3 separate regions of the Homo sapiens genome follow, and all the other regions are linked to region 3. Evidence: promoter capture Hi-C in 16 types of primary human blood cells and fetal thymus (Javierre and others, 2016). All regions are on one chromosome and are shown on one strand. The core of a region is centred on a gene start or on the middle of the fragment in contact, and the rest is flanking DNA. Distances in the headings are between cores, read along the strand shown.

What was found. The method cuts DNA at HindIII sites, captures the fragments that hold promoters and counts their contacts. A CHiCAGO score of 5 or more calls a contact.
Region 1: the fragment with the promoter of TREML4 here is called in contact with the fragment with the promoter of UNC5CL in region 3 in 7 of 17 cell types (neutrophils, activated CD4 T cells, naive CD4 T cells and 4 more); the score reaches 9.9 in neutrophils.
Region 2: a contact is called between a fragment that was not itself captured here and the fragment with the promoter of UNC5CL in region 3, in 1 of 17 cell types (neutrophils). The highest score is 5.1, in neutrophils.

Annotation. Positions count from the first base shown.
Region 1 is chr6:41,224,730-41,229,695 of GRCh38, forward strand. It overlaps TREML4 (triggering receptor expressed on myeloid cells like 4), which reads left to right and starts at 3,620. Exons shown (of 6, transcript NM_198153.3): 1 at 3,620-3,761; 2 at 3,985-4,315; 3 at 4,792-4,842. The coding sequence starts at 3,699. LOC105375055 (a long non-coding RNA gene) reads left to right here. Exons shown (of 3, transcript XR_926794.3): 3 at 1-1,099. The HindIII fragment of the contact is 15,987 bases long and covers 1-4,966 here.
Region 2 is chr6:41,252,376-41,257,057 of GRCh38, forward strand. No RefSeq gene overlaps it. Among named protein-coding and RNA genes, the nearest start is that of TREML4, 26 kb to the left of the region's middle. The HindIII fragment of the contact is 3,084 bases long and covers 1-2,863 here.
Region 3 is chr6:41,036,394-41,041,046 of GRCh38, forward strand. UNC5CL (unc-5 family C-terminal like) reads right to left here and starts at 2,828. Exons shown (of 9, transcript NM_173561.3): 1 at 2,769-2,828. The HindIII fragment of the contact is 17,483 bases long and covers 1-4,653 here.

The sequences.
Region 1 (4,966 bases), core at 2,370-4,869, 190 kb after region 3:
TCCAAGCTACGGATTTTAAGGAGAAAGAGATTTTTAAAATCAAACATTAAATGCTTTACAGAATCAGATCCTATGTAATTTCTGGGCATCACTCTTAAAGCCACAGGATGGGCTACTAAGGGACCACTGCCTTTGCCACAGTCAACACCCTTTCCAAATCAGGCAACTTTCCAAATCTGGAAGCTGCCATCACAGCCCTGGCTAAAGAACCCCTCCATCTCACCCATAGTCTACCGGCACAATGGATGCCTCTCTTCCCATTCTAGCTCACTTCCTCATTTAAGTCTCATACAAATACATTGAATGGGTGGGACCTAAAATATATCTGGAACCCTAGCTGCAAAGGAATCAGAAATGATCTTGTAGACCTTTTACTATAGAAAGACCCATGAAAAAGAGGTGGCAGCCACTCATAGTGGCTCACACCTGTAATTCTAGCACTCTGGGAGGCTAAGCTGGGTGGATCTCTTGAGTCCAGGAGTTCAAGACAAGCCTGGCCAACATGGTGAAACGTTGTCTCTATGAAAAGCAATAATAATAATAATAACAAGGTGCATTGGTGTGTGCCCACACTCCCAGCTACTCAGGAGGCTGAGGTGGGAGGATCACTTGAGCCCTGGGAGGTCAAGGCTGCAATGAGCCATGATCACACCACTGCACTGCAACCTGGGCGAAAGTGTAAAACTCCATCTCAAGAAAAGAAAAAGAGAGACAGAAGAAGAAAAAAGAAAGAAAGAAAGAAAGAAAAGAAAAGAAAAAAGAAGGAAGGAAGGAAGGAGAAAGAAAAAGAGAGAGAAGGAAAGAAGGAAGGAAGGAAGGAAGGAAGGGAAGAAAGAAAGAGGTGGCAATGAATATATAGTGAGTTCACAGTGTCTACCTGAATACTCTCAGCCAAAACTGAGATCACAATAGTTAAAATTTATAAGTTTTGTTGTTTCTTTTGCTGTCAATGAAAGTCAAATATGACTAAGTGAAAAATAAACATATAGTATTTGCTTTGTTATGTCAAATAAACGCTATTTGTAAAAATATAGTATTTGCCTTGTTACACCAAATAAACCCTATTCTGTAGTATAAACGTTATAGTAACAAATTTTCATTTACAGCAATCAGTACATCGGACACTATGTGTGACATATCACACTGAAGGCATCAAATGATACAGATGCAGAGAATAAATTCCTATTTTCCTCTTCCAGAATTTATCATACTTTTCTTAGAAACTTCAGTGTGTTTAAGAAAATGACTCTTATTACCATCAAGTGTTAGTAGGTGCTTTACACCTAGCCGTACTAAGATTTCTTAAAACTTTGCTGTTTGTTATGTACACGCTGTTTGTTATGTATCAAGTGATTATTCATATGCTTTGTGTAAATCGTTTCTATACATATTAAAACTAATCTTTTACACTTAGAATGCTTTCAGATTCACAGAAGAGTTGTGTAGGTATTGCATACTTCCCTGATGTGCTATGTTCAATGTCTTCTATTATTAATATAGTCCAATAGTATGCTACATTTCTCACAATTAATGAGTTGATATTGATACATTACTATAATTTTACAAAATTGATGAGTAGAACTCATATATTTATAATGCGTGGTAGGATAGTTTGATGTGTGTATTAACTGTGAAATTACTAAATCAAGCAATACCACATATACTTACTTGTTTTGTGGTGAGAACATTTAAAATCTATTTTCTGTCATTTTCAATTGTACAATTCATAGTTATGAACTGCACTCACCATACTGTGCAATAGATCTCTTGAACTTATTTTTTCTGTCTAACATATTGTGTTTCTTCAACAATACCTACCCAGTTTGTCCAATTCCCAGCCTCTGGTAATGCCATTCTACTCTGTTTCTGTGGTAGATTTTATTAATTGAAGTCCTTACTTCATTCAGATTACCCTGGCTTTTACCTCATGTACTTTCTGTGCTCCAGGATCCCACCTAGGAAGCCACATTGCTTTTAGTCTTCATGTCTGCTTAGGCTCCTCTTATTCATAGCAGTTTCTGAGAATTATTTCTTAGTTTTGATGGCCTTGACAGTTTTGAGGAACGCTGCTCAGGTATTTTGTAGAATGTCCCTCATGTGGAATTTGTTTGATGTTTTTCTCCTGGGGCCAGCGGCTTTGGGGAAGGAGACTGCACAGCTAATTGCCCTGTCATCACATCAAGTCAATGACACATTCTAACAACCTGAGTTATCCCTGTGGGTCTGCACTTTGGTTGCCTGGCTGCCACAGTAAGTGTCAGGTTTCTCCACTGTACAGTTACTCTTCTCTTCCTTCCCATGCTATCCTCTGGAGGAAAGTCACCTGCACAGCCCATGCTTAAGCCGTGGGAATTTATGCTTCTGCCTTGAGGGCAGAATACCTATAAGAATTGTTTGCAATCTCTCTCAGTCCCTTCAGGCTGCTATGAGAAGATGCCTTAGACTGGAGACTTTCTAAATAATAGAAATCTCTTTCTCAAAGTTCTGGAGTCTGGGAAGTCAAAGATCAAGGTGTCAGTGGATGTGGTATCTGCTGAGGGCTGCTCTCTGCTTCCAAGGTGGTGCTTTCTTGCAGTAACCTCAGTTGACTGAAGGCATGAACACTGTCCTCATATGGCAGACAGCGCAAATCTGCTTCCTGCAATCTCTGGTATAAGGGCATTAATTGCATTCTTGAGGATGACGCCCTCATGACTTAAGATTTTCCCACAAGATCCCACCTCTTAACGCTATCACATGGAAATTAAGTTTGAATATATGAGATGGGGGAACAACATTCTGAACACAGCAGAATCCTTATGCATGGGATATTTGTCTATTCCCCCCCCCAGTTCTTTATTCAGTCATTTACTTACATCAGCATGGACTCCTAGAGATTTAATATATACATTGGGTAGTAATCCAGTACCACTTGGTTTTGTTGCTAGATAGTTCTCACTTCGGCCATTTTCTTTTTCTGTACATTTTACACACGCGTTGTTCTTTCATCCACTGATGTATTCATCCAACAAGCACTGATTGAGATGATCCCAAGCTACCATAACTGATCCACTCCTACCTGCCTTCCCCTCCAACTTTCCCTGACCAGCACTCTCTTTCCTCCCTGCTTTCCTGGCCCCACCATTTCCAGGGAACATCTTGTAATTCCTGGGATTAAAATCTGCCCTCTACAAAATGTCTCAGGGTCAAAACTCATCATCAACCCACCATGGCTAGACCAGAAGGATTCAGGGGTCTGGTCGTGCCTCCAAGGGCCCTGACCACCTATAGGAAGTGCACAGAGAGAAGGAAAGAGGGATGACCCCAGCTTTATTCACCAGCTTTATTCTTGGCCATGCTGAGAGCTGCCCCTAGCAATAGAGGAGCAGTATGACTGGCTGGAAGGCATAAAGCAGCAGACATGGGGAGAAGTTCAGTGAAAGGCGGCAGAGCAACACAGCAGGGCTGAGGTGCCCAGGCCCAGAGACAGACCCTGTAGCTGGTGGCCCCTTTCAAGGCCTGGCTGCCCCTCCTCCCCTGGTCTGCAGAGCCCGCCCTCCCAGGCCGACCATTTCCCCAGCAAGACATTGACTTCCTCAATTTTACCAGCTGAGAGACACTGGGAACCTGGGGCAGAATCAGACCCAGCGTCTGACTCCTCCTGAGAGGGCTCCCTTTTTTCTCCTCTCCTCCGCTGTCAGAAACAGATCTGGGCTGGAATGGCCTGGGGTGGGGTCCACACCTGCTGCTTCCACCTGTGCTGCTGCTGCTCCTGGCCTCAGGTGACATGGAGGGAAAGAGTGCAGGGGGTGTAAGGAGTGGGATGAAGAATGAGTGGGGCAGGGAGCAGCATGGCTGTGTGACCATAGGACAGAATTTAGGGGCCCTCTTCCATGTGTGGGCATCAGAACTAGTTCCCCCTCCCCTTCCCCAGCCTGTGATGGGGGAGGTTGGGTCCCTTCAGAGCTCTGACCTGGGTTTCTTTCTGCCGGTTCCTGGGTAAAGGGTGCTGTGCCTGAAGAACTTCACAAACACCCAGGACAGACCCTCCTCCTGCAATGCCAGTACTCACCCAAGAGAGGGCCCTATCAGCCCAAATCCTGGTGTCAGCAGACATCTCCAAGTCGGTGTACCTTACTTGTCACCAGCTCCAAGCCCTGGACAGCAGTTCAGAAGTCTCATTACACAATCTGGGACAAGCCCAATGCTGGCTTCTTCAACATCACCATGATTCAGCTGACACAGAATGACTCGGGATTCTACTGGTGTGGAATCTACAACGCTTCCGAAAACATCATCACTGTTCTTAGAAATATCAGCCTGGTGGTGTCTCCAGGTGAGCTCTTTTCTTGAGGAAATACCTCTGTGCCACCCCCCAGGGACCTGAAGGAAATGTCATGCACCCCCTCCCATGCCTCTATCATCCCCCATCCTGCCAGGTATTCTGCTGTGGTCCAAGGGGAGCAAAGATCCTGTCCCCAAACATGGACTCTCACCTCTCCTCCACCCGGTACATCCTGGCCTCAATTGTTGGGAAGGTACCCTCAGAGGTCCCTGGACAGAGACACAGTCTGTCTGTCACTCTGCGTCTCTCTTTGTCTTACACAGGCACACCCACAACTCTTCTTTTCACACACACACTAACACACACACACCAACAACTCTGTCATGCAGATCTTAGGCACAGACCACTCCTGGCTTAAGACATCCTGAGGGTCTGGCTCTGGGCCCCTACCTCCTCTTATGTATGGGGTAGACCCTACTCTCTTCTGGGCCCCTGGAGAGTCATTGTCTGCTGTCTTTTCTCTTTAGCCCCAACCACGTCTCCTATGTGGACTCTTCCCTGGCTCCCAACAAGCACAGGTAGGTTGGAGGCCTCGGTGGGGGAAGATTAGAAGGGTCACCAGGCAGCTTGGGAGCCTCAGATTCAGGGAAGGGGAAACCAGGGAGGCCTGCCTCTGAGGACTGATCTCTTGGGGCCTGGGCT
Region 2 (4,682 bases), core at 72-2,571, 210 kb after region 3:
TTCTGCCTTTCCTCCCTCCCTCCTTTCCTCCTTTCCTTCTTCCTGACTCTAACCTAGGCTGATCACACAGTATTCTTAGGTTATAGCAAAAGAAAACCCTGCTTCTTGGCCATGTCCATTTCCTTCCTTAGCTCCATTTACCCTAACACCTACCCATTCACCCACTCATCCATCTTTTCATCTACTTATTCTTCCTACATCCTGTCCATTCCTCCACTCATCCATCTATTTATCCACCTACCCATCCACTCACTTCCAAATAGTTTATCCGTTAAATCACCCACTTATCCATCCATCCATTCATCCAATGTTCTTTTCACAGGTCTCTTAGGTACCCCTGCCTCCAATGTTAATCCTACCCAGAACATGCCTCAGATTCCCACAGTTCTTCCTACCACCACTAAGGCCCTGAGCCCACTGTATGCCAGCCCAAGAACCATGACCCAGCCTTCACCCAAGTCAACTGCTGATGTCTCCACTCCTGGCCCACAGTCAACAATAAAAATGTGACAAATGTCATCAACTATGATTTCCCAGCCTCTGAGCCCCGGGTTTGGACATCAAGCTCTTTGTTCCCCAGTTCGTGTGCTGAGAGGATGTGGGAGTGAGGGAAAGGGGAAGGTGGGGCAGGAGCAGACTTGAGTCACATTAGTCTGGGTAGAAATGTCCAGGGGAAGAAGGAGGTGGTGATGGAGAATAGGGGAGGCTCTCAGCCAGGCTGTCATTCTCCCTAGTTCACCTTCCTTGTTTTCTTGCAACCTGAGTATTAAGGAGAGGGAAATGGCATCCTCCCCAAATTCCAATGGAGCTCATCCAACCCCAGGGGCCTGATGAGTAGTGGGAACGCACTCTGAATGAGGGACCCTGGATCTAGTATCTACCTGACTAACTGACTGTGACTTTGGGTGAGTCAGGAACCCTCTCTGGCTTTAGCTTCCTTGTCAATTCAGTAGGCATGCTAGAAACCCAGAGCTGGAAGACATTGTTCACCCAACAGCTCTCAGCAGGAGCCACATGTTAGGGCTAAATGCAATATTGGTTTTTGCCTTGTTTGGTTAGTTTTAAAAAAAAAATACTGATGTGTGTGTTCTCATACACAGACCAATAGAATCAGAATTTCTGGAAATGAAGCCCATCTCAGTATTTTTTTATAAATACTTCAGAAAGAAACTCAGAGAGGAAAGGACAAACAGGCTGAGGAATGAGAAAGAATAAAACTCTTTCTTTTGAAATAAAAAAAAAATTTATGCGATTTTTTTCCCTTTAAGAGGAAAATCTGCTTTAATTAAATGGAAACAATGATCCAAGCTACTTAAGTATAAAAGCACATTGTACTATAAAATGTTTAATCTGTATTAATAAGAAGCTAAATTTATAACAAGGAGCTGAATGCTTTTTAGTTGACTATGTTGAGGCAAAAGTCTATAAAACAGCATTTCCTACAATGGTGGAATGTTCTCTCTCCCTGTCCAACATGGGTAGCCACTAGCCATGCGTGGTAATTGAGCATCTGACCTGAGACAAATGAGAGTGAAGGACTGAATTTCTATTTATCATTTAATTTTTGTTAATTTAAATGTAAATAGCCACCTTGACAAAATTTTGGGAGTGTTTTAAGGCAAGATTAGGACTTATTGAGAAGTTTGATTTAAGGTAGGTCTTTCAAAGCAGGGGCTGGGCTATGATTAAGTAAGGATCACGATCAAACAGTCCTGGATTGGTAGAAACAATAGGATGAGGATTTTGAAGTGGGGGATTCAAAGAATCTTATGTTGCCAACTACCTCTTAGGGCTTTCCATGAAAGAGTTGATGAATCTTTCAGGAATTTCCTATAATGAACAAGCAAACCATTTTCCCAGACAAGAAAACTCCTGGTAAAGTAGTATTCACAAAGACAGAGGAATAGCAAAGTCATGTTAATGTAGACAGCAAGGTGTGATTTCAGTTCTCAGTGTCAAGACTGAATGTGGGTATGGATGGTTTCTATTCCCAATAAAAAAATTATTTTTCTAACAAAATATACTGTGGACAAAAGCAACATAGGGGAACAGCTCCATGATATTGTCTTGACAACCTTGCATATGCCACATAGGTCACACTGGCAGACACATGAACTACAGCTAATTTGAAGCATGGCAGAATGCCTGCAACCCTCCTAGAACATAAAAGGATGGAGGCTTGTGAGAACCATGGCCCAGTAACTTCTCTGTCTCCCCTGAAAGACAGTTCCTCATGCCCTCCTGAGTTCTGATGAGGCCAGAGGCTCTGTCCCAGACCTCAGAATAGGGCTGCAGGTTATGAAACCACTTATCTGCCTCTAGAGTAGATTCCTCAGCAGTGGAATGTCCCACAACTCATATTGCAGTTGTCTGGCCCCTTTTGTTTTGGGGTGTGGGACAAGAGCCATGAGGAGCTGGCACCTTTGCCTAATCTTTCCCTTGTTGTCTGTGTAAATAATAAATTGACTGAAAGTAAAAGTGGCTCATTGCTGACATTGTGCCACTGCACTCCAGCCTGGCCACAGAGCAAGACTCCTTGAAAAAAAAAAAAAGCGGCTAATTGCATTATTAGCAGTCAAATCAGTCAGGACTTGGCTTTGGCGCAGCCTTGTCTCACATGAGCTTAACAAGTGACAAATGACAGACTGAGACAAGATATTTGCAATTTCTAACATAGAATAATATCTAGTTTTTTTTCCAAGATGGCTGCCTGGAAGCATTTTAATCACACCTCATCCACTTAGAAGAACCAAATAGTGTGTAGACAATCACACTTTGAATACATTATCCAAGAGGGAACTTGAGAGTTCAACAGAAAAGCAAAAGAAAAGTCCAAAATCAAGGAAATAGAAAGAAAACAGGAAGCTTGTGTAGTTGGGACCAGCTGGGAACCAGAACAGACCCTCCCAAATGGGAGAGAGTGAGTGAGAGTCTTTCTGTGATCCACTTTCCCACTGGGGAATCATACAATCCAGGACATGGGAGTGCAACTTGACTCTCCAATCCCTGAATCTAACTTACAGAGCAGCTGGGAGACTGTGAGAAGAAACTTCCCCATGGAGGTAGCATGCCCTGGGTTTCACACCCTTCCTGAGACCTAAGAAACTGCCATTCTTGATCCTTGCTCTTAAAAAATTGTGTGTGGTCCTAGGAACCAGTGATGGCAGTCTTAGGCATTAAGGAAACTCAGGCTGCAACTTGCAGAACCAGGGCTTCAGTGAGGAATAGGTTCCCACAACCAGGACTAAGAAGTAAGCATAGTGTGGACTTCAGCTTCAATGCTGGAACAGGGTACACCTCCTCCCCAAAACCTGAGCAGGATGAGATTTGCCTCAGTGACTTGGTTGAGCTGGGCAGGGGTTCCTATAGCCCAGGGCTAAGTTACAGGCCAGGTGCAAACTGCCTGGCCTGACTGAACACTGGGTTTACTATGACAGCCAGGATATGGGAGGGAGCCCCACCACGACGGGGGCATAAGAGGAATGCAAATCCTCAACCAGTTGCCAAATCTGTGGCTACTGGGACCACCCCCACACTCCCTGTAGCAGGACCTCAGTGCAACAATGCTTGCCCCTCACTGAAGCATTTTGCCAGGGGCCTGAGTACTGCTCCATCCCCCTGTAGCAGCTGGTGCATGCACTCGCCATTGGAGGGTCTGAGTATCAGCTTTCCTGGCCAAGTTGTGCCCAGCTTCATCCTACCTCCCACCCCGAGACAGAGTGCAGAATCTAAGCTCCGAGGGGTTTCACAACCCAATCCACCACCTGGGACACCCACACACTTCCCCCTATGCAGGACAGAAGTCAGGCAAAAACACCCTACCACTCCCACCTCAGCTGGCTTCTACCTTCAAGCTCCACCTACTGACCTGAAGGCCGGTCCACACAGCCCATTGCAACCACTGCCAACACAAAAACACAGCACTCAGGACCAAGAAGAAGAACTCGCCACTACTGCTATTGCCATCACCCATGCCACTTTGGCTGTCCAGGAGTTGAGAGCCCACTCACCTGCCAAGTACACCACTACTGCAACTGACCTTAGAAAAAGCCACCCCAGATGCCCAAGAATCAGCCTGCCTAGGCCCATCAATACAAGTGCCAGTGTACGCTGCCCTAGGTCACAAGAATAGACATGCTTAGCCCACCACTGCTACTACTGAAACCTAAAGGCCCATCTGGCATTTCAGTCCCCAGCACAACTTCACCATAGTCTCCACCAATAACTACATCCAAACACACCAAGGAAACCACAGATACTACCAACACTATTTATAGCCAAATAACTCATACAGAGTCTTCACCACTGCACACATCCAGAAGCAAAGCTTAAGGGTACTACCAAAACAAGATTATAGTCACATCTTCAAGAAAAAAGCCTCCCCCTCCCCTCATGAGAGTAAATTCAAACACAGAAGAAATGACTATTACACCAGATGTGCAGAAATTAATGTAAAGAAATGTGGCAGGCCAATTCTCCCTGACAATCACATAGACAGACCTGCATAGCACTCCAGTTACACAGACAGATTTCCACAGCACTGCCTTAACATTGAGCAAATAGTTAAACCTAAGGAAATCAGTGCCCAGACATCAAAGCTAGGAATGAAACATATGGTCAGTAGGACCTTACCTGGGCTTCTCCTTAACCTGGAGCAAGCCAAATAGTAGAGGCAGTCTTAC
Region 3 (4,653 bases), core at 1,578-4,077:
AGGACACACCCCCAAACTATTCCCATGAGTCACAACAAATTGAGAAGGTGGAAGGTGTGAATAAAAACTTTGTATTTTTTTAAATCCTTTTCTCTGTACTTTGAATTTTTCACATCAAGCATGTAGTTTGTATTAACTTTGTAATTCTTTTCTGAAGCTATTAAAAGTGGGGAAAAAGTGCCTCTTTGTGTAATGGTGAGGATGGCATAAGGTCATGTGAAAAGTATTTGTAGATGAGAAAGCACTGTCCAAATGTATGTGTTTCTTTATGCCCCTCCTTCTGCCAGAAAGGCCTGAAGGTAGCTCACAGGGATAGGCAACATACAACAAGAACAACAAAAGCTAAAAGTGGAAGCAAAAAAAAAAAAAAATGAAGAAGACAAAACACAAAGATGCAGCCCTACAGTGAAGCTGGAATGAGGCAGGGCAAAAGCATACACTCACCTCCTGCTCACCTGGCTACCCAGCCAGGCCACAGGCTGAGACTTCCCAGTAGCTCTTCCTGAGGCCCTCCAGAACCCACCTCCGCCTCCTCCTACTTCCCCTCTTCCAGCCCCTACAATTTCCAACACGCCTGCCCTGTAGCCTGCCCAGGCTCCCCACACCTGCTTAATTCTAGCCTCTGGCTTTTGCTCATGCTGTTTTCTGTTTCTCCACTCACTTGCTCTCCCCACTTGTTTCCTCTCCCTACGTGGATCCTCCCATTCAATAGTGCCTCCCGCTGGTGCACCGGCCTTTGACAGCCTCCAGCTCGCGAAATCTCTCTCCACAGCCATCCCACCATACTGAGTCACTCTTGATTATGTGCTGTCATGTGTGATTTTCCCACTCAAATGAACATTTTCTAAGCACCGGCTGTGTATCGGACACTGTGGGAAGTTCAATCCTGCCAAAGATGACGTCTTATTCCGCTCTCAAGGAGCTTCTGCAGGAATGGAATTCATTGGCTTGGTAGCTGAGTTCTGTGAGGCACAACGTCCTCCTTCAGAGCCCTGGGAGGCCCCTCTGGTTGACTCACTAGAGGCTGCACTGGAAGAGCTTCCAGTATCCAGTCCTCCCCACGCCCTTCACTTGCACTACCCACCTGGAACTGAGGCTTGGCCCACCTTCTTCCTTCCAACCTCAGGACCCATGAAAACTGAAGCCCCTTCCTAGTGCCTCTTAGACCAGGGCAGAACCTCCACTGTATCCTCAGGATTGAAGACTGGGGCAGTACCTGTTTCTCCCATGTCCTCACTGAAAGTGTGAATAAGAAGCGGGGGTTGGCATTGTTCTCTTTGCCTAAAGAGCCAACCCAGCAGACAATGCACCAGCCTTTTTCAACCAGGCATCCTGGAGGGCACACAGGTGAATCAGTGAATTGGCAGTGTCCCAAAGCTGATGGGAAGGGGGTTGGAGCAGCAAGCTACCGTTGATGTCCCATCATTTCTTTTGGTTCTTTCACATTAGTAATAATTATAATTCCAACTGTAATAACAATAGCTAACATTCGCAGAGCTTTACTCAATGCCACTGTGTTAAAGCACTCTCCATGGCTTGTCTCATCTCATCCTCACAGCAGCCTTAGGAGCGAGGTGTTATTTTTATCTCCATTTCACAGATAAGGAATCCGAGCTTTCTCCCCACAGTGAAGATGGATAGGGAATTACTAAACAACTGAAGACAGGCAGGAAGGAGGAGCAAAGACGAACAAGGACTTCCAGAGATACCCCCTTTCTCTCTCCACCCCTTCTTTTCCCCAAGTATCTTCCTTTCCTTCTCTAGAAGAAATAAAGTTGGAAGAGAAAGAAGCAAAAATGAAGTAAAGACAAATAGAAGGACCTAAATTTACATCCTCAGTTATGTGGTAATACCCACCCCACTACACCACACCCCCACCTACCAAGGTACCAGTGGCAGGGGATGGAATTGCTAAAGGGATGAAAGGAGGGGCCCCAGCTCGCTTACACAGCAGTAACCTTCCTGGGGCCACCAAAGACCAGAGTCCAGATCCCCAGTGAGGTGCACCTCACTGGGTGGTGCAGTAGAGTCCCCTGGCTCAACCTCCGACCCTGGAGAAGTTGGCATGCACCACTCCCAAAGCCCCACTGGGCCTCTCCCAGGGTGACTGCTCTTCCAGGCTGCCCTGGCCCTCACTGCATCCTCCCTCTGGCTCCAGAATGGGGAAAGGTCCGGAGTCTTGCTGAATGGCAACTATAGCACTGCAGCCATTCGAGTGTGACTTGGGGCATCCCAACCCCATGCCTGGACTCCTCATTACCCACTCCTCCAGTCTGTCTTGCTCCAGACCCCAGATCACCCTGGGTAGCGGGTCCCCGAAACGAGAGTCCTTTAGAATGCTGCCATCACCTGTCCCTAGGCAGTTGCATCCTCCAGCACAAAGATCCAAACTCCTGCTGCAAAGTTCTGCTCATACCCTTTAAGAAAACTCTCAACCTTTCCTCCACCTCACTGGTTCTCCCTGTGCCTCCCCAACACCTGATAGATGTCCAGTTACTGCAGAACATAACAAGTACTGGGATGGATGGTCCAAACCCAAGTCATGAATGGCATTTGTTAGTATAGTAGACATTTCCGCAGGACACAGAATCATCCCAGTGGTCCTCATACCCATTGGCCAAGTCCCATTTTCCTCCCCTCCTCCAGCAGAGGGTCCCTACACTCCAGCAGGCAGGCTAAGCTGGCCTGGCTCCTCCCCCGAAGCTCCAGGTAACCCCATCACAATGCCCATCCCCTCTCCAGCTGCCCCAAGGGGGTGCTCAACTTACCGTCTAGGAGCTCTTAGAGGCTGCTGGCTGGTCCAGTTCCTTCTCCGAGAAACAAGGGTCAGCCAGATTCAGTCGGCAGGCCAGCAGACAAGTGGAGGTGGGCGGGGAATCCAGGCAGGAGTGGCCTGGCATTTCCTGGCAGAGCCCTGCCTCCCAGCTGTCTAAAGAGGGGTGAGGGAGAGTGTCCCTGTCTATTGGCAAAGTCCAGCCCAGGTAAGGGATTAGCTGAGGATCCCAGAAGTCAGTGAACTTTCCAGTCTAGGTCTGGAAGGAAGGAGGGAGGCAGGGAGACAACCTGGGTGTAGGTGCTGCACCTTGAAACCCCTCCTTACAGTGCCCTCTGCTGGTGAGTGGCTGTCCCCAGCCAGAGGCTATTATTAAAATAGCAGATAGGAGGAGGAGGGAACCTTCATCTGAGTTTCTTAAACTATAATGTGCACAACAGTCACCTGGGAGATCTTGTTAAAATGCAGGCTCTGATTCTGTAGGTCTAGTATGGGGCCTGAGATTCTGCAGCTCAAAGAAGCTCCCAGCTGATGCCAATGCAACCGGTCCAAGGAGCTTAGAGAGCATCTAGTTCCACCCGCTCCCCACACAGAGAAGACAGTGGAGCCACTGAGACGGTTAATGACTCACCAGTTGCTGGTGGACCTGAGATGTACCCATATTTTTCCTTACACAAGGTGCTTTCTACTTCCCCCACCCAAAGTTGGCAGAGACACTGCCGGTTGGGAGACAACTGAACTTTGGGGCCATTTGCCATTCTGAGTTCTTAAAACTCTGCCTAGGAGCGGTGGCACCACAAGAATGAAAACTCCTTGTGGAACTTTTCCCATGTTTTCGGCTGTCTCCTCAGCTCCTGGTACAGCCTGATAGATAGAAGGTGTTCAATAAACATGTCTTGAATGAATGAGTGAAGCAGTTGAGAGGGAAAAGGATGCATTTTGGCTCCAACTGGCCAACACTGAGCCCAGGTGAGCCACACGTTGGGTATGTAATATTGGGCAAGCTACTTAACTCCTCTGAACCTCAATTCCCTTGTCTGTCAAATGCAGTTAAGAATATCTACCTTGTGTGAGATAATAATTGTCATTATTGAGCTAATAAATGTCAAATGCCCACCACAGAATGGGTGGTCAATAGATGGTAACCGTTGTCACCAGGGTCTGGCCTCCTGCAGTTGAGGAGGCATGGTGAACGCCCCCCCAGGCCCCTAGTTATCATCTCCCATAGAAAATAAGTAACTTCCTCTGCTTTTGTCTCAGTTAATAATTCTCTAGCCTCTTGTCTCTGACTGCAATGCCCTCCCCTCTGCTTCCTTCCCTGGTGGAGGTGAGAGGGTGGAATAAACCTCCCAGGGGAGCCCAGTACCCCAAAGTGCAGAGATGGTAGAGAGCGGGCAACCTGGGAAGCAGACCTCATGCCTAAAGACAAGCCAGGAAGGGGTGCTCAGAACTTTGATAGGGAATGAAAGGAGTGGGGTAGGGGTGTTTGTCTTTGTTGAACAAAGCTCTGTCTGAGTCACACAGGAGGCTGGACTTTGCCAACAGACAGGGACACTCTCCCCTACCCCTCTTTAGGGCGGCTGGGAGGCAGGACTTTCTGCCAGGAAGCGCCAGGTCACTCCTCCTTGACTCCCCACCCACCTCCACTTGTCAGCTGCCTTCTCCTCTGAGTCATAAAGTCCTAGGGGTTTGTGAAAGATCTGTCAAGCTAGGGTTCTAAGCCAGGAAGGTCATGCCAACCAGGAGGCTATAACCAGGGGCTGTGTTCATGGATTATGAACTCACTTCCCAAGCTAGTTCTTGCCACTCTTGGGGACAATCCCAATTATAAGGAGGCTCTGAAGAAATGTGAAGGCTCCTACCACTCACTCCCATGGCCA